Regions from separate parts of the Homo sapiens genome. Here region 1 is linked to region 2. The links are contacts of gene promoters, found by promoter capture Hi-C in blood cells and fetal thymus (Javierre and others, 2016). All regions are on one chromosome and are shown on one strand. Each heading gives the region's core, a stretch centred on a gene start or on the middle of the fragment in contact. The rest is flanking DNA. Distances are from core to core; before and after follow the strand shown. Region 1 has its middle 26 kb from the start of MIR422A. Region 2 holds the start of HERC1 (HECT and RLD domain containing E3 ubiquitin protein ligase family member 1).

Region 1 (3,746 bases), core at 789-3,288, 63 kb before region 2:
GGTACTCGAACCAGGCCATTCCTGCCCAGCATGGGACCCTTCTAATATTTGCCCCTGGACTGCTCATCACCTGGCTGAGCCCTTCTCTGGGTTGCTCTGCCATCAGAGGCACTTCCTAGCCAGCCCTCCTTCCTTCCCACCCTCCTTCCTTAGGTGTCACACCTACATCATGGCCTGAAAGCTCTCCCTTGCCTACTCCTGCTTCCTTTCCCCTTCATCCTTCATAGGCGTTCCTCATCCCACACCCCAGGTCTCCAGCACTTCTCATCCCATCTTGGCATCTGCTTCCTGAAGAATCTGAACCCACATAGGAGAGAGGGCAAAAGGAGGAAAGTTTGAATTTGCTCCTTCTTTTTGTCTCCACTGATTCCTTTGGCAGGCATGGACTGACACAGCCACTGCACTCACCTTAAAGCTGTCAGCTGGGGACAGTGGTGCACCTGTAGTCCCAGCCACTTGGGAGGCTGAGGCGAGAGGACTGCTTGGGTCCAGGAGTTGGAGGCTACATTGCAAACTATGATTGTATCTGTGAATAGTCACTGCAGTGAGACCTGTCTCTTAAAGAAAGACAAAAAGGAAAAGAAAGCTGTGAACAGAGCAGTTGGTACTCAATTCGTCTTTAAAAAAAAAAATCAATGGTGGGCCAGGCGCGGTGGCTCACACCTGTAATCCCATCACTTTGGGAGGCTGAGGCAGGTGGATCACCTGAGGTCGGGAGTTCGAGACCAGCCTGGCCAATATGGTGAAACCCTGTTTCTAATAAAAATACAAAAATTAGCTGGGCATGCTGGTGGGCACTGTAATCCCAGCTACTTGGGAAGCTGAGGCAGGTGACTCGCTTGAACCCGGGAGGCAGAGGTTGCAGTGAGCCAACATGGCACCATTGCACTCCAGCCTGGGAAACAATAGTGAAACTCCATCTCAAAAAAAAAAAGAGACCAAGAAGCATGACATGAGGGGCGCATGGGAGAAGCTGCGGTTTCTAACTCTGGGAATCTGGAGGACTATATGAACAAGGTGGACTTTAATTTGGCCTTAAAGGATGGGTGCTAAGAGAAGGGACAGGAAGTTATGGGTTAGTATTCTGATTGCTTGTCCTTACGCCTTCTCGTGGCTGAACTTTGGAAAGCTACCAATTAAATGAAAGAATGAGACTTCTGCGGGTTAACTGCACGGTGGTGAATTAGTAGTTCTACCATTTTCCCCTTCTCTGTCCATTGTGACCCTGGTTCTTGGTCAGAGACCAGAGGGCCCTGTCGGAGAGCCAGTGGCCATCTGTTGGGGTTGGCAGAGGCATTCAAGGTCAGGCATACGGGACAGATCTGATTCTTCCTGAGTCCTCTGGAGGAGTCTGTGTGTGTGTGTGTGTGTGTGTGTGTGTGTGTGTGTGTGTGTGTGTCTGGCTGTATTCGGGTAACTGTGTGTTTCTGGGCATACCTAGGCACCCGTTGTGGACATGTCTCTGTGGGGTGTGTGGACGTGTGTGGATGTGTCTGGGTGTTTGTGTGTGTGGATGTCTTTGTGTGTGTATCTGACTGTCCGGGGGCCTGTGTGTGCATGTGTGTGTTGGGTGTCTGTGCATGTCCGCGTGTCTGCGTTTGGGGTACGTTTGGGTATCAGTGTGTGCACATCTGTCTCTGTAGTGGATGTGTCTGTGTGTGTGTGTGTGCATCTGAGTGTGTGTCTGGGTGAATGTGTGTTGTCCAAAAGGACTCATGGAGAAAGCGCCTCCTGGGCCCAGGCTTTGCAGAATCTATTCTGCTGTCAGACCTCTGAGGCAGGTCAGAGTGACATTCTGGGCGATGTGGTTGAGGACAGCCGCATCTGCTGAGTCATAAGGATGTGGGCCCTGTGTGTTCACAGTTGGACATATCGCCTTTCACACCCACGGAGGGGAAATTTCAGCCAGGCTGGCTGACCCTGCATTCTTTCAGAAGGTCATGACCTCAAGTAGCCCAGGGAAGGAGAGGAAACAGGAATGCTCGTAAGACCTAGAGGTTGGCAGAAGGTGAACTGAGACCCAGGTGTTCCCCAGCTGGGTCCGCTGGGTCGTGGCTTTCTCAGGCCTTTCCAATAACTAAGCTGAGGGCTTTGGAACTGATGGGACACTTCCTGGTGGGGGAGGAAGCCCGGGCAGATTTTCTTAAATGATACAAACTGCCAAGCTCACCAAACTTTCACAATCGATGCTGACCCTGGAAAGCCCCACAAAGCCATAAGAGTCTAGACTCTGGAAAATCCTTCTCCTTCCTCTCCAAATCAACCAATCAGCAAATAAACACCACTACACATAGTATGCTTAGCTGCCATGCAATCAAGCGAGGCTTTCACGCTTATCGGATTTAAACAGTAACGTTTCCCCAGGGATGGCAGGGGCAGAAAGCCTCAGTCCCAGGCTTCTTGGTTGGAATGGGTTTCACAGGTTCTTTCCTAATATCAGATGGGGAGGGGTGAGGAGGGCATTTGCCCGCTGGAGCACACCTGGGAGAGCACCACTTGTGAGGGAAGGGTTCCAGCAGGACATCGATGGGAAACGCACATCAGGAAATGAACATCTGAGCATTTACATGCACCCAGCATGGGGAAGGCACTGGAGAATATTCTGCAGGAGGATATTCCTGTTCCTAAGGAGCCCGAGCTGGGAGCGCACCTGTGGATATTCAGCTTGCCCATAGATGAGCTGCTTCCCCTGGCCACGTGAGATATGGATGAGGTAAGGAAAGGCGATGTGAGTACATCGAGGTGGGGTTGGTCCTTCGGGGGAGGCGGTGATCAGAGGAAGGCAGGGAGGCTGGCCTGGAGCAGGAGGGTGTCACCACTGGTCACTCCTTGTATTCAGACAGTGAAGGCCACTGACAAAATGTCACACTTGCTGTGACCACTGGTCTCCAGTAAGGTCCAGCCAGCCTGTGGGGCCTTGTGGGTCTGGCATGCTGGGCAGCGGGTTTGATGGGGGGGTGTCAGGTTCTCCTGGGGAGAGAGGGCCCCAGGAGGGACATTGAGGTAGTCAGTACTTGGTCTAAGCAGGGGTTTCAGAGACTTTGTAGATGCTCGTCCAACACCACTGAAGATGCCCAGGGGCGACAGGGAGCTCAGGATCTCTTGGCAGGACCCTTAAGGGCTGGTGTCAAACTGTTCAGGTTGTTACAAGTTCTTTCTCAGGTTAAGCTCAAGTTTGCCTCCCCGCAGATCCATCCATTGTCCTGGTTCTGTCTTCTGGGGTCATATCTATTTAGCAAATATAGAGACAAAGATGGGAAAAGATAGTTCATGTCCTCAAGGAATCCACAGTGCAGTGACAAGGATGAAATAGGCGCTAAGCTGGGAGCTGAGGAAGGAGTCCTGTGTTCCGAGGGATGGGGGCCCAGGCAGGCCTCCAGAGGAAGTAGCCTTTGAGTGCGCTTCACAGATAAGAGGATTCACATGGGTGGAGGGGGCTGCAGAGTCCAGGCCAGGAACAGCTTGAGCAAAGACACAGAGGTAGGAGAGAGCAAGGTATCCCCTGGGGACGCGGGGCACCCTGTTGGGGTGGGGCCTGCTGCGGTGGGGAAGGGGGCTAGATAAAGAGGGGCTTCAACCCAGGCTTAGGCCTTTATTCAGCAAGCTATGGGGAGGGTTGAGAGGTTTCGTGAGACTTTATCAGAGCTGTGGCTAAGATCAGGGGTTCTCAAAGTGTGGTCCCTGGCCAGCAGCATTAGGGTCATCTGGGAACTTAGAAATGCAAATTCTCCAGCTGCCTCCCAGAC
Region 2 (3,689 bases), core at 847-3,346:
TGTGGTCAAGGTGAGGGTGGCTAGTAGTCAGGGCTCACTTGCTGACACTAACAGTATTTGCTAATTGTATGCAACTGAACACAGTTGTATTCAATTCTCTTTTACACACAGCTCTGAGGGTGGAAGCTAAGGAGATGGTAAAAGAGGGAGTCTCTTGATTGGTCTTTAAAGTAAGCAGTCCTTTTCTTGAAATAGAATGGGCAAAACCAGGCTGGGCACGGTGGCTCACCCCTGTAATCCCAGCACTTTGGGAGGCCAAGGCGGTCGGATCACAAGGTCAGGAGTTCGAGACCAGCCTGGCCAATATGGTGGAACCCCATCTCTACTAAAAATACAAAAATTAGCCAGGCATGGTGGCACACACCTGTAATCCCACCTACTTGGGAGGCTGAGGCAGGAGAATCGCTTAAACCTGGGAGGCGGAGGTTGCAGTGAGCCAAGATGGTGCCATTGCACTCTAGCCTGGGCAACAAGAGCAAAACTCCATCTCAAAAAAAAGAAAAAGAAAAAGTGGGCAAAACCAGTACAATTTTACAAATTCAAGAAAGACAGAATATCATATTTGTGAGTGACGTAGATGACATCAACAAGTTAAAAGGAGGAGCTTTTGCTTGTTGTTTTTGAGTATGCTTCACACACAATACCCAGATCATAAAGCACTAGCAACAATGACATCACTCCTCATGTAGCTACTCCCTTACATCATTTACCAGAAATACACATTTTATACATAGAAACTTAAAAGCTACACACCTAAGACCCATCATTTAATGAGTACTTAATATGTGCCGTATGTGAGCTTTACATATATTTTACTCCTCAGAGGAACCTTGTGATAACAAGAACTGGCATTATAAATTGACACATAAGGAACTGAGGTTCAGAGAGGTCAAGCAACTTGCCCAAGGTCACACACCTGGGGTAAGTGGGATTCCAGAATTCCCACCAGTGTCTGACAGTGAAGCACATGGCTCCTAACTCTTGGACTAAACTGCCTCATGTGACACACAAACATGTATCTAATTTAACCATGGGAAAGCACTCCCTCGTCTGTCTATACCGTAATTTCTTACATTAGTGACACATTCATGGCTTGTATGTTTGTGTGCTTCTCCTACGCCTCCAATTGGATTGCAAACTTCTGGAACGCAGAGGCCAACTCTATTTTTTGTCCCCAAGTCATCGGTCAGTTTAATTGATGCTCGTTAGAATATCTGGAAGGAAAGACACCATGAAGGTGGCTGGAAAGGAGTAAAACCAGGTACAGAAGGAGGAAGATGGAGATGGGGTATTCACTCAACAATTTAATGTCCACTTGGACCTATGTTAGGCGCTGGAGATATGGTGAGGACTGAGCCAGTCTGTGTCCTTCCCCTCATGGGGTTTCACGTGGAGGTCGAGGTCATGATCAAGGATGTAAGTCACCCAAAGGACACTACTGTGTTCCCAAGCAGAAAAGAAAACCGAGGAGCCAGGCCCTGGCATCTGCAGGGTTCTGGCAGTCCCATAAGGCGCAAAGACATGAACAAGGTGGAAGAGTAGGTCAAGTGAAACGCTTTTATGTGATTGAACTTAGCCGGCCGGAGGGCCGGGGCCGCTGCGATGAGAGATAAAGAGCGTGGGGCGCCGGGTGCGAGGCGGAGATAAAGGGGTGAGGCCCTGGCCCTGCCGCCGGCCGTAACACGTGTCCCTTCGCCTGGCGGCGGGGTCTTCCCTGCCCACCACGAGGAAAAGGGGGCGCACTGCATGGCCCCCCACTCCTCACCACCCTTTGTGAAACGCCCCCAATTGTGCTTCATCTGTGGAGTCAGGTCCCCGCAGGCGGTCGGGGCTGCCCGGATTCCGCGACGGCTGAAGGGTGAGGGCCGCGCGGTAGCAAAGTGTCCCCAGCACCTAGCTTGGCTCCCCTCGCTCCCAAATCCCTTTCCCCTTTTCGCTCAACCCCCAACTCCACCTCAGCCGCCTTCCTCTCGGTTCCCCTTTCACCTCCCGCGCTGGGCCTGTTGGGCGGGGCGAGGGCTCCCGGCTGCGCGAGAGTTCCGCCCAAATCTCGTGAGACTCGCCTGACGCCGCCGCTGCTGCCGCCGCCTCTTACGTCTTTCCCTTTGACAAGTCGCTGCTGCTGCAGCAAAAATAAAGGACGCGACCGCCGCAGCCTCTGCGGAGCCGGGCTCGGGTCGCCGGAGCCGCGCCCCACCCCGCCAGCTCCAGAGCCACGTACGGTAACGCATCATCTACCGTCCTCCTGGTCCTGTGTGTGTGTGTGTGTGTGTGTGTGTGTGTGTGTGTGCGCGCGCGCGTGTGTGCTTTGCCGGCCGCGCAGGGCCGGCCGGGGCCGTTTCGGGACTGCAGCCGAGCGGGGCTGCTGGGGTCCCGGGTGGGCGGCAGGCGAGCTGGGGGAGCCCTCCTGGCGCGCCGCGGATCCCCCGGGTCCCCGGCTCTAGAGGCCTCCTGCCGCCCGGGCGCCTCGGAGCAGCGTAGAAGCCGAGGCGCCCGCGGAGAGGGCCGAGAGACCCGCCCCTCCAGCGGCTTACAACGTCTGTGCCCCGGCCCCGCTGTGGTCGCGTCTCTTTCTGCTTCATTCCTTTATCTGCTGACCAGCTCCTCTGCCCCGGCTGGGGCTCGGTCCGCGGGCGGCGGCCGACTCCCTCTCAGGGTCCGGGGAGTGCCGCGACCCCGGTGTCCCCAGGCGCCGGCCGCCTTTAGCGGGGTGGAGGCTGGGACGACGTGTCTTCCTCCTCTCCTCTGCCTTTGGGTGAGGGCAGCTCATCATCTGCTAAACCTTTCTCCAAATCTCCCGCCCCAATAAAACAACAAATTATAAAGCCTTTGCAACCGGGAGGCGAGGCGGGGCGCATTGTTTAGTCTTAAGCGTGAGATGAGGATGATGATGGTGATGACAGGAGCTACCCCGGGGAACATGGTGAAATCTGTTCTGTGATGGGTGGCAGGTTACTGGGAGACACGAGGAGGACAGGAGCTTGTACCACCTCTCCCAGGAGGTTATGTAAAAGACATGTTATCTTAGAGAGCTGTGAAACACAGGGACAGATTTGTCTTAGTTTAAGAAATGTCTATAATACTTAGAATATAGAGATAATTAAATGATGGGAATAACAAATCTGAACAAACTAACCCATCTTTGTAATTCCATCTCCAGAGGTGGCATTTCATGGTTAACATTTTATTGTATTTCCTAACAGACACATTTTTTTTTATCCTTGCTTGGGACTTCCTCATTCTATATTTGTTCCAAAAATGATTTATTTTATTTGAATCAGTTCTCTGGCCTGCTTGATTAAAACTGGCTGCTAGTTCATTATCACTGGCTGAACTCTGCCATCACTATCTTTTTCACTGGGCCCTTTTCCAAAATGATTGTTAGCTAAGTGGTTTGAAAAATCAAACGTTAAAACATTGTCTGTTTGGGTCTAGTACCTATGTATATATTATATTTTTACAATTCTGTTAGTGGTGGTTGCTCAAAATGGGGCAGTATTTGTAGAAGGGAAAGAAACTATGATTATTCATAGTGGGAAGAAACCTATTTACCTCAGGTTTTATGAAATTGATTTCTACTGGATATTTTTAGACCAAAATTGTTCTGTGACATTGTTTCATAGTGCCTGTTGTGATTAGTGTGGGATGAGTATGTCTCTTTGATATATGTGTTTCCATAGCCTGCGTTT

What was found. Contacts are between HindIII fragments. The CHiCAGO score rates a contact against its expected background, and 5 or more counts as called.
Region 1: a contact is called between a fragment that was not itself captured here and the fragment with the promoter of HERC1 in region 2, in 2 of 17 cell types (megakaryocytes and erythroblasts). The highest score is 7.8, in megakaryocytes.

Annotation. Positions count from the first base shown.
Region 1 is chr15:63,895,073-63,898,818 of GRCh38, reverse strand. No RefSeq gene overlaps it. Among named protein-coding and RNA genes, the nearest start is that of MIR422A, 26 kb to the right of the region's middle. RefSeq lists enhancers at 1,711-1,760, 1,961-2,010. The HindIII fragment of the contact is 5,326 bases long and covers 1-3,746 here.
Region 2 is chr15:63,832,355-63,836,043 of GRCh38, reverse strand. It overlaps HERC1 (HECT and RLD domain containing E3 ubiquitin protein ligase family member 1), which reads left to right and starts at 2,096. Exons shown (of 78, transcript NM_003922.4): 1 at 2,096-2,217. RefSeq lists enhancers at 1,908-2,037, 1,211-2,074, 2,075-2,940 and a silencer at 2,278-2,707. The HindIII fragment of the contact is 17,710 bases long and covers 1-3,689 here.